3 separate regions of the Homo sapiens genome follow, and regions 1 and 3 are each linked to region 2. The links are contacts of gene promoters, found by promoter capture Hi-C in blood cells and fetal thymus (Javierre and others, 2016). All regions are on one chromosome and are shown on one strand. Each heading gives the region's core, a stretch centred on a gene start or on the middle of the fragment in contact. The rest is flanking DNA. Distances are from core to core; before and after follow the strand shown.

Evidence for each region. The method cuts DNA at HindIII sites, captures the fragments that hold promoters and counts their contacts. A CHiCAGO score of 5 or more calls a contact.
Region 1: a contact is called between a fragment that was not itself captured here and the fragment with the promoter of NEK1 in region 2, in 1 of 17 cell types (activated CD4 T cells). The highest score is 6.7, in activated CD4 T cells.
Region 3: a contact is called between a fragment that was not itself captured here and the fragment with the promoter of NEK1 in region 2, in 5 of 17 cell types (non-activated CD4 T cells, naive CD8 T cells, monocytes and 2 more). The highest score is 9.6, in non-activated CD4 T cells.

What each region holds. Positions count from the first base shown.
Region 1 is chr4:168,466,749-168,470,570 of GRCh38, reverse strand. The region is part of intron 4 of DDX60L (DExD/H-box 60 like); the gene reads left to right. Among named protein-coding and RNA genes, the nearest start is that of DDX60L, 12 kb to the left of the region's middle. The HindIII fragment of the contact is 3,219 bases long and covers 323-3,541 here.
Region 2 is chr4:169,611,165-169,614,670 of GRCh38, reverse strand. It overlaps NEK1 (NIMA related kinase 1), which reads left to right and starts at 2,088. Exons shown (of 36, transcript NM_001199397.3): 1 at 2,088-2,449; 2 at 2,528-2,651. RefSeq lists enhancers at 2,016-2,075, 2,496-2,615. The HindIII fragment of the contact is 11,256 bases long and covers 1-3,506 here.
Region 3 is chr4:168,504,048-168,507,604 of GRCh38, reverse strand. All of the region lies in intron 1 of PALLD (palladin, cytoskeletal associated protein), which reads right to left. The region is part of intron 1 of LOC107986198 (a long non-coding RNA gene); the gene reads left to right. Among named protein-coding and RNA genes, the nearest start is that of PALLD, 8.8 kb to the right of the region's middle. The HindIII fragment of the contact is 1,738 bases long and covers 453-2,190 here.

The sequences.
Region 1 (3,822 bases), core at 683-3,182, 1.1 Mb after region 2:
ATTTTACAGTATGAACTCTTTGTATAAACCTTTCATTCAACATAATATTTTTGAGAGGCATCCATTTTGTTGTGTGCAGTGGTATTTTGTTCCTTTTATCACTTTTGAGTAAGGTTTTATTGTAGAAATGTGCCACGGTTTGTTTACCCATTTTCTTGTTGAGTGGACACTTTCCTGTTGAGCAATCTCTTTCAATATCTTGCCTAGATGAATAAAGCTACTATGTGCATTCACATGCAAGTCTTCGTGTGGACGTAAGTTTTTATTTTCCTTGTGCATGTATCTGTGGTTGAAATATATGTTTTATAAAACTGCCAAAGCTTTTCCTAAGGTAGTTGTGCCCCTTTACACTCACTCCAGCAATGAATAACAGTTCTGGTGCCCTGTGTAGTTGCAAACATTTGTATTTGGTCAGTCCAGCCATTCTGGTGGATGTGTAGTGTTATGTCCCTGTGTTTTAATTGGTATTTATCAAATGGCTAATGATGTTGCCTACTTTTTCAAGTGCTTATTGTTCATTTGTATACTATGACTTGTGAAGCATCTGCTCGTATCTTTTGACCATTTTAAATTGGGTTCTTTATCTTTTTAATATTGAGTTGTAGTAGTTCTTGATATATTCTGTATACAACCTCTTGTCATGTATATTATTGCAAATATATTTTCCCAGTCTGTGGCTTGTCACTTCATTTTGAGACAGAGTCTCGCTCTGTCACGTAGGCTGGAGTGCAGTGGCGCAATCTTGGCTCACTGCAACCTCTGCCTCCCGGGTTCATGCCATTCTCCTGCCTCAGCCTCCTAAGTACTTGGAACTACAGGCATGCACTACCATGCCCGGCTAATTTTTTTGTATTTTTAGTAGACATGGGGTTTCATCGTGTTAGCAGGATGGTCTCAATCTCCGGACCTCGTGATCTACCCGCCTCTGCCTCCCAAAGTGCTGGGATTACAGGCATCAGCCACCGTGCCCGGCTGCCACTTCGTTTTCTTAGTACTATCTTTGGATGACCAGATATTTTAATTTTGGTGAAATCTAACTTATTATTCTTTAATGGTTATTGTGCCTGTATCCTGATAAGAATCATTGCCTATCTCTTAGTCACAAAGATATTTTCCTATATTTATTAATAATTCTAGAAGTATGTAGTTTCAGCTTTTGCATTTTGGTCTATGATATTTCTTGAATTAATTTTTGTGTGTTTGTGGTGTGAATGGGGGATTGAGGTTGATTTGTTCCAGCATCCATTGTTGAGAACATTTTTCTTCCACCAGTGGATTGCTTTGGTTTCTTCATCAAAAAATCAAATGATTATATATGTGTAGGTCCATTTCTGGGCTTTCTACTATGTTCCATCAAAGGATTTAACAAATTACCAGTACCACAATGTCCTGATTTGTGTAATTTTATAGTAAATCTTGAAGCCCACTTTGTTCTTCTTTGTTTAACTTTGGCTATTCTAGGTTCTCTGCATTTCCACACGAATTTTAGAATCAGCTTGCCAATTTCTATTTAAAAAGAACGATGGGATTTTAATGATATTCATTAAATTTGTAGACCAATATAGTCTTTCAGTTAGTGAACACAATATGTATCTCTGTTTTTTAAGATCTCTAATTTGTTTTATCAGTTTTGTAGTCTTCAGTGTGGAGGCGTTGCACATCTTTTGCTAAATCTATTTCAAGATATTTCATGTTTTGATCTTACCGTAAATTGAATTTTTAAAAATAATTTTTTAGTTTTTGCTGCTTGTATATAGAAGTAGAATTGATTTTTGTTTGTTAACTGGTATCCTGCAATCTTATTAAAACAACTTATTAATTTCAGTGGCTTATTTGTATATTTCTTAGATTTTTTAATGTCTTCAGTGAATAAATACATGCTTATTTCTTATTTTCCAATTTTATTTTTTAATTGCTTTTTCTTGCCTTATTACAGTGATTGGCATCTCTAGAAATGCTGAAGTAGAGTGAGTGGGAATCTTTACCTGGTTCTTGATCTTAAAGGGAAAGTATCCATTATTTCCCTACTAGGTATCATATTAGCTGTAGTTATTTTACATATATCCATTATCAAATTGAGAAAATTTCTTCTTATTTTAGGTTTTCTGAGAGTTTCTATAATTAATAGGTGTTACATTTTAAAAAATGCTTTTTCTACATTTATGGAAACTCTGATACACCTTTCCTCTTTTACTTTCTTAATTTGGTAGATTACATTAAGTGATTTTTAAATATTAATTCAATCTTTTATTCCTGGGAAAACCTTAGTTGGTCATGATAGATATCCTTTCTTTAATATATTGCTGGGTTTGATTTGCTAATATTTTAAGTGTTTTTGGTATATAGTCATGAAAAACATTAATCTGTAATTTTACTTGTTTATTTATTTATTTATTTATTATTTGAGATGGAGTCTCACTCTGTAGCCCAGGCTAGAGTACAAAGGCATGGTCTCGGCTCACTGCAACCTTTGCCTCCCAGGTGCAAGCAATTCTTCTATCTCAGCCTCCTGTGTGGCTGGGATTACAGGCATGCGCCACCATGCCTGGCTGATTTTTGTATTTTTAGCAAAGATGGGGTTTCCCCATGTTGGTCAGGCTGGTCTTGAACTCTGGACCTCAGGTGATCTGCCTGCTTCAGCCTCCCAAAGTGCTGAGATTACAGGCATGAGCCACCGTGCCAGGCCAATTTTATTTTTTATAATGCCTTCGTTTGGTTTTGGTATCAGGATCATGCCGACCTGGTGAATGTGTTGAAAAGTCCATTTTCCTCTTCTATTTTCTGAAAAAGTCTTTATGAGATTGGTATTATTTCCTCAGACGAATTTGATAAAATTTGATCAAATTTTCCTGTGAAACCATTTGGGTCTAGAGTTTTCCTTGGAATAAAATTTTTGATAACAAAGTCAATTTCGTTAATAAATATAGGGCCATTTAGACTTTCTGTTTTATCTTGTGTCAGTTTTGTTAATTGTATATGTCAAGGGATTTGCCCGCCTTATCTAAGTTGTCTAATGTTTTGGCATAAAGTTGCCTATAATATTCTCTTATTTTCCTCTTATTGCCTAAAGATTTGTAGTGATGTTAGTGTTAGTTAGCTCCTTCTTTCATTTTTTTTTTTTTTTTGGAATGGAAACTAAATTTTCTTTTTTTAAAATTTGAAACAGGGTCTCACTCTGTCTCCCAGGCTGCAACATAGCAGTAGCATGATTTTGGCACACTGTAACCTCTGTGTCCTGGGCTCAAGTGAACCTCCCACCTCAGCCTCCTGAGTAGCTGGGACTACAGGCGTGTGGCAGCATGGTTGGCTAATTTTTGTATTTTTTATAAAGATGGGGTCTTGCTGAGTTGTACAGGCTAGTCTCCAACTCCCAAGGTCAAGCAATCCACCTATCTTGGCCACCCAGAGTGTTGGGATTACAGGCATGAGCCACTGTGCCTAGCCACTAAATATTTATTTTTTCATTCATTTTCAGATTATGCAGTTTTACACTGAATAACACAGAAGGAAACTAAAATTACCAACAGTTTATATGTAAGCTTGATTCCTGTCTTAAGGAAAAGAAGAACACTGCAAAAGCAACACGTATTCTAACAAAACGTGTTCTAACATGTTTTGTTAGAACACAAACAAAAAACCTCTAAAAAGCTTTCATGTTACACTCTCATTTTGTGAATTGGCAGCTGTCTGTGTCCCTTAAATCTTTGATTATCTGCTGCTTTCTGTGTAGCAGGCAACAAAGCACACAGATTGTAACTATAGCTTACCAAAAGGGGATACATGGACCATATATCCATCACCTGGATACTCTAAACCAGTTTT
Region 2 (3,506 bases), core at 839-3,338:
AAATTTAAAAATGTACGTTGCAAAATAATATGTATACTATAGTCCCGGCTAGGCACAGTGGCTCACGCCTGTAATCCCAGCACTTTGGGAGGCCAAAGCAGGCAGAATTACTTGAGCTCAGGAGTTCAAAACCAGCCTGAGCAACATGGTAGAACCCATCTCTACAAAACACACACACAAGAAGCCTGGGCAACATGGCAAAAACCCTATCTCTACAAAAAAAATACCGAAATTAGCCAGGTGTGATGGCACGCACCCATGGTCCCAGCTGCTCGGGAGGCTGAAGTGGGAGAATCACTTGAGCCTGGAAGGCGGAGGTTGCAGGGAGCTAAGATCGCGCCACTGCACTCCAGCTTGGGAAACAGAATGAGACCCTGTCTCCAAAATAAATAAGTAAATAAAAGACTAAGACTAATATATAAAATATAAAAATGCATGCTTATGTTTTTAGGAACTTAGAGAAAAATGTAGATGATATTAATTAACTGTTAACATTGGTTTCGTGGAGGACAGCACAGAAGAGCTCTGGGAAGGAGACGATAGGCTTTATCTTTGTGTACTTGTGTTACTGGCTTGTTGCAAGAAGCAAAAACTTTTTTGTTTGAAAGAAAAGTCCAATAAAATATTTAAAGAAAAAGAAACCCCAAAGCACTCTTGTTTAAAAATAAAAAAAAAAATCAATTGTACAGGGGTATATAAACCAGAAAGGGAAATCAGGTAATCTTCTTAGGTAACCTGCTTTATTTACTCATCAATATATCAATGGTATCTTTGTATGTCAATAAAGTAGATCTTGATTACTCTTTTAAATGGCTTTAGAGTATTTCATTGTTTGGATATATTATAATTTAATCAATTCTTTATTGTTATACATTTACAGTATTTCTAGTTTTTCTGGTTATAAACAATAACGGTTATCCTTGTATATAAATCATTGCTCACTTGTTCCAGAAGTTAAATTGCTGAGTCAAAGGATATGCATACTGCTAGCATACCTTCTAGAAAGACTGTAGCAGTTTGTAGTCCTACCAATAGTTTATGACATGAGCCTAAAGAATTATCTAAGGAGGTTAGCTGACTAGCCATTCTTCCTGTAAGCAGCAAAAAGAATTTGCTTAGATTAGTAATTGGCAACATTTCACTTCACTTTGATGTACAAAAGGATGTGGGTAGAACTACAATTGTGCATTCAGACATGATAATTCCTACTAACTGGGGGTAGGAGGGCCCACAGGAGTGTAGACTAGAAGTAGAAAGAATGAGGAAAATAAGTCTTTTGTAGCTGTATGGCGATTGAAGAGGAGATAAAACAAACTCTCCAGCTTTTCAGGTTGGGTGACTTGCAGCGCCATCGTCTGGCAAAGCCGCCAAAATCTTTCAATGTCCCTAGGAATAAAGTTGCCCTGAGTAGGGCCACTCAGGATGACGCCAGATGATATCCCTTATTATAGTTTTAGGGGAATCTCTTCCTACCTTCGCCAGTCCTGCAGTGAAAAAATGTACTTAGACTGCTGTACATTTCCAAACCCTTCAACATACAGACAAGTAATTTATACATACATTAGATGTAAAGGTGTAGAAAACCCCATACAGCTTTTTAAAAATATCTCAAGACTTAAACATTCTTCTGTTTCAACCATCCAAGATATAATAGGAAAAGACTTGCTTTTTAAAGCAAAATTGCTCTTTAAAATGTGGCATCCCTAAGTAGTGCGCTTTCATGTAAAATAAAAAAGTCCCTTTCTCGGTGTAGTAGCTGTGGGAAAATTTTATATGCTTTATATTCCAAATTGGTTTCAACTAGTGAGTTCTCTCCCGCATCTCTGCATGACTCTTAACAGCTTTACACTCTCTCCATCCTTTTCATCTCTCCCGTCTCGTCCTTTCTGTCTTCCCGCCTGCAGAGCCCGCCCCTCCCGTCCCTTCGCACAGCACCCCGCCCGCCCCTTCGCACAGCACCCCGCCCGACCCTACGGTTCTAGCCCAGCCTCACTGCTCCTTCCCAGCCGCCTCCGCTGCGTGCCGCCTTCCACGCGCTGACGTCACACGCCAGCGCCGGTGACGCGCCGGCCGCTCTCCCTTAGTCCGCATTCGCTCCAGGGTTTTGGGACCCTAGGTTGCGGAGTCCTTACCCTACCCTGGCCTCTCGAGCAGTTGTCCCCATAACTCGGAATCTAGAGCCGCTGTTGCGAGGCAGGAGCACGTGGCAGTCAAGTAGCTTCCCAGTCCCGAACGCCGCCCGTCCCCACCCCGCCGTGGCCACTAGCAACGACCTCTGTGAAGTTGGAGAGGCGGTAACGGAGGCACTCCCCCTGCTGCACCCCGCCGTTTCTACGGGGCTCAGAAACCAGTTTGTTTGTTTCGTCGGGGTAGTGTCGACCTGTCTTACGGGCGTCGCCCGAGACAGGACGGAGTCAAACCCGTGGTATCAACTGAAGACGAGTGTCAGGTGTGGAGAGTCTCAGTGCCCCCTTTCAGTCTGGACTGTGAGCTGCTGCTGGTTAGACAGTCTTGGTTTCTCTTTCAGGATGTCATTTTCAAAATGCGGGATGGTACCTCTGCTTTATTAAGCCCCGTAGGAAGACTGCCACACCTAGACTGATGCTTATTAGTCATCACCGTTATTCCTACTAACGTCCTGTGTCACTGAGGTGAGTTCCACTTGGGGGAAGGAATGACATGCAAAATGGTAAAAATCATCCTGGAAATGAGATGTGCGTAGAACTGCTTATATTGAGATTACACAGATACCTTAAGTGTTTGCAGGGAAAATACCTTAATCTCATTTAAATGTTAATTCTCTAAGACACTCTGTATTAACAAAGCGATTCTTGGACATTACGGTATTTTTAAAAACTAGAGCGGTAATGGGATTAAAATAATAGGAATCTTAGTATGGATAAGCAAGCATTTGCATTGCTTATGTTGTGTCCAATCTTAAATTACTGATAAATTTTAATTAGGAAGCGAATATGAGTAGTAGTTAGCTGGTTACCCTGTAATCTTAGATTTCTGTTTCCATGATTTGACACAGTTTCCATATGTAAGGCATTAATTGTTGTACTACTTTAAGAGTTTATCATAACTTTTTTTGCAGGCCTATTTTTTGTTCTTTAAGATCTGCTTTAGGAAGCAGAAATATTTTTTATTGCCTTGGTATGTTTCATTAGAAATGTTTATGAAGGATTAAAAGTGGCATCCAATCTAAGTTAATGACCTTTTTTTATGATGCAGCAGTATTGTAGAGCTGATGGAGGGGAGCCAAATTTGGAGAGAAGTAACTCCTTGTTTCTAGTTTACATTTGTCTGGTTTTAGAGGTTCTACAGATCTGTTTCACTTAAAATATCCATTGTTCTAGGTGAAATGTAAGGAGCCTATTTTGTGGGAAAACAGGTTTTTTTCACGTTAAAAGTCACTGTCAGGAATTTAATAAAGGTCGTCGGACTTGACCACAGAAGTTCTTTTGAGGTCGTGTGAATAGTACATTGACATTGTATTCCAAGTA
Region 3 (3,557 bases), core at 72-2,571, 1.1 Mb after region 2:
TGTGCAGTAATCCAGGGGGTGCACACATTTATCATGGTTTCACGTTTGGTGTTGCTGTCATCTGGACGTCTTCATTTTGGAGAATTCCTCATATTCTGAGGCTCAGTGAGAAACTGAACTCACTTGTAATGGGATGTGAAATCTCCAAGTATTTTCTTTCCCAGCCGCTTGGAGACTGGGCACAAGTCTTGGCACTTGGCCTAGACAGCGATTAGATGTGTCCTTCTTGGACTCTGAAGTGAGAGCTGGTGATTCAGGGAAGCAGTGGGTCCAGGGTCCATAAGATAGATGATAGAAAGGAAAGAACTTGGTAATTGATTAAAGGCAGAGGTGATGCAGAGGCAGGGTTACAGGTTTCTCACCTCAACAACCAGATGACTGGTACCATTAACTTACATGCTACAAGTGGAGGAACAAGTTTTTTTATTTTATTTTATTTTATTTTTTAAGCTTGATTTTGATTTGAGCCTTTTGCAGTTGAGGGACCTTTGGTAACTCTGGTGTTGATGTCTAGGAGATTTGAGATGCTGATCTAGAGCCCAGGAGAAGGGAGAACAGAGCTGGATTGGGGATTATTAGCCTATGGGTGGCACTTTAAGACATGGGAATGCATAAGGTCATCGAGGAAAAAAGAAGGAGAAGATAGAATCCTTCGAATAATCACAGGGAAGCAAGAAAAGCTAGATATCGTGGAAGCTGGGAAAGAAAATATCTCAGGAAGCAGTACATGTCCTTTTGATTTTTGATTTTAGCAACTTGGGAATATTTAGCACCATTGCAACAGCACTTTCGGTGTATGCAACAGAAATATAAGCCAGATTGCTACATGGAAGGAAAGGAAAGAAGGAAAGAAAGAAAATATTACAGGTGTGGTGGTTTGTTTTGAAAAGATCATAGAAAGAAGGAGAGACAGAAGGTAGTAGTTGAACAAAAGTATAGACTCTGGTGAGGTTTGTTCATTTTTAGGATAGAGCGCTGTAACATGTTTTATACAAACCAAATTAGGCAGTAAGAAGGGAGAAGCTGAAAATAAATGTAAAAAAGCGGGGATGATTTATAGGTCAGCTCTCAAAAGATGTAAGAAGAAATGAGTTATTATAGGACAAACGGAGTATGAGGTGTTCAGCTTCCAGTAGGAAGGGGGCAGTTCTTTCATTGTTAAAGGAGAGAAGTAACAAAGGGTGTATGTGTGTTGGGGCATGGGGGGCGGTAAGAGAGAAAGGGAGAGAGAGAGAAACATGAGATTCTCTGCAAAATTTGTAATAGAAAGAAAGGAGAGTTCCCAAACTGAGACTTCTGTGCATTGGAGGTTTATGAGGACAGAAGATGATTTGAAATAGCTGTTGTAGAAAAAGGGGGAAGGAAGTTTTGTAAGAAGGATTTATGGGTAGAGGTGAGGGCCTGGTTGAAGTTAGATGTGATGTATTTATAGTGTCATTAATCTGTGTGATTGTGCAATTCTCTCCACCAGAGCTCAGCCATCCAGGTGAAGGTACAGAGATAGATGATCCCAGTTTGACATGCAGGTAAAATGGGAGGGAAGTGGGCAAGGCCATTGAAAATATGGTCAAGGAATAGGTGGCCTTTGACATATATGCTGGGTTGGAATTCATGGGTAGGAGTTTGAATGTAGAGATTGTCTTTGTTTTTTTGAACCAATGTCAGAGTTGAGTAGTTGCAACAGAGACTATATGGCACATGAAGTCTAAAATATTTACCTGCACTTTTACAGGAAAAAATTGCCAACCCCTTCTATAGAACATTAGCTACCTAATGACTTCATATAACACATATAAAGGCAATTAATGATCACGATGATTGATAATGATAATGGCTAATAATGGACTGCTTACCCTGCGGTGGGCATTGTGCCCAGAGTCATCATGTAGATTATTTCATTTAAAACCCTCACAGCAGCCTCTGGTTTAGAAAGGAGGAAATGGAGGCAGAAAATCTGAGTGGGAGAACCAAGGTTTAAGCCCAGGGAATAACTCCAGAGCTCATGTTCTATGCACTTTACCATCTTACCATTGTAGTTTTCATAATTGAGAATCCTAAGCAATGTATCAAACTAACAAAACTGTGGATCAGAAATCAGAGTTCTGCTATTAATTCAATTGCTTTTTAGTTCCAAATGAACATAATATGATACATTTTAAAACTTCACAAGGAGCATTATATAACAAAGCTTAAAGCAAACTTCTGAATGATGAAAACATTTTCAATTCTTAATGTAGGGAGTGTTTGCTGGAGGCAGATTATCTCACCTGCTTATTAACTCATATTTTGGTTTTAAAGAGGCGCCATCTGACAGGATCCAGTAGTCAGGATTAGGTGTAGCTTTAAAACTGCTTGCACATTGAAAAAGAAAATAATAGTTCTATGGCATATCTGGTTCAGGCTTAATTTGCAAGCCAGTTATTGCCGCGGGAACATGCACGTGGTCTAGGGAAAATGCTCATTCAATGAGGATGAACAAGGGCGGTTTCCAAGCGGGCCAAGTTCACTGGAAAATTGTGCTTCAGAGATTTCCATGTCAGTCAGCACTCCAAAATGAAAAGGTCAAAATCAAAAGGAATGAAACACAATCACAAACATCTCCATCATTTGCCTGAGATTTCATGTTTTCTGTCAAACAGTGCTCTTGGTAATTCTATGCCGGTGTGATAGACACAGAAGATGAAATAGACTAAAAAGACCCACTAATACTGCTGTTAATGAGTGAAGAGGAAATGAGGTAAACACCAACGCCATTAAAGTGGTTCTACTTTAGTAAGTAGCATTGAAAGATTTTGAAATTTTGAAGAATAAAGGATTCTTTGGCATCTTTAAATTGTCCTGTCCCCTGCCTCCTCACTTTTCTCAGAAGGAATCTGAATTTCCTAGAAATTCTTCTGTCTTCTTCTTTTTCTCATCCTTGTCTTATCCATCATCTCCAGCTTTAGCAGTTTAGCTTAATTGTCATTTTCCCTAAAACGCTCATTAGCCACAGCCATTTTTTTTTTTTTTTTGAGTTGGAGTCTTGCTTTGTCGCCCAGGCTGGAGTGCAGTGGCATGATCTCAGTTCACTGCAAGATCCACCTGCCGGGTTCAAGAGATTCTCCTTCCTCAGTCTCCCGAGTAGCTGGGGCTACAGGTGCCTGCCACCACTCCCAGCTGATTTTTGTATTTTTAGTAGAGACAGGGTTTCACCATATTGGCCAGGCTGGTCTTGAACTCCTGACCTTGTGATCTGCCCACCTTAGCCTCCCAAAATGCTGGGATTACAGGTGTGAGCCACCATGCCTGGCCAACCACAACTGTTTTTTAATTTGCTTGAAGTTGCGTAGCATTATGTTCTTCACCATGGAGGAAATGACTCTTCCTTGGCCTCGCCCATCTTACAGTCATGCTTCCTTTCTTCTACTTCCCTTTCCTGGAATAGTAAGTTGAACATGAAATCAACGGAACAACTGCTTAGTTGTGCAAGAGAAGCTTCAAGGAGGACAAAGATGAGGCAGGCGTAGTTATTCTCCTTAAATGATCTTACAATCCAGTAGGAGGGATTAGACAAGAGT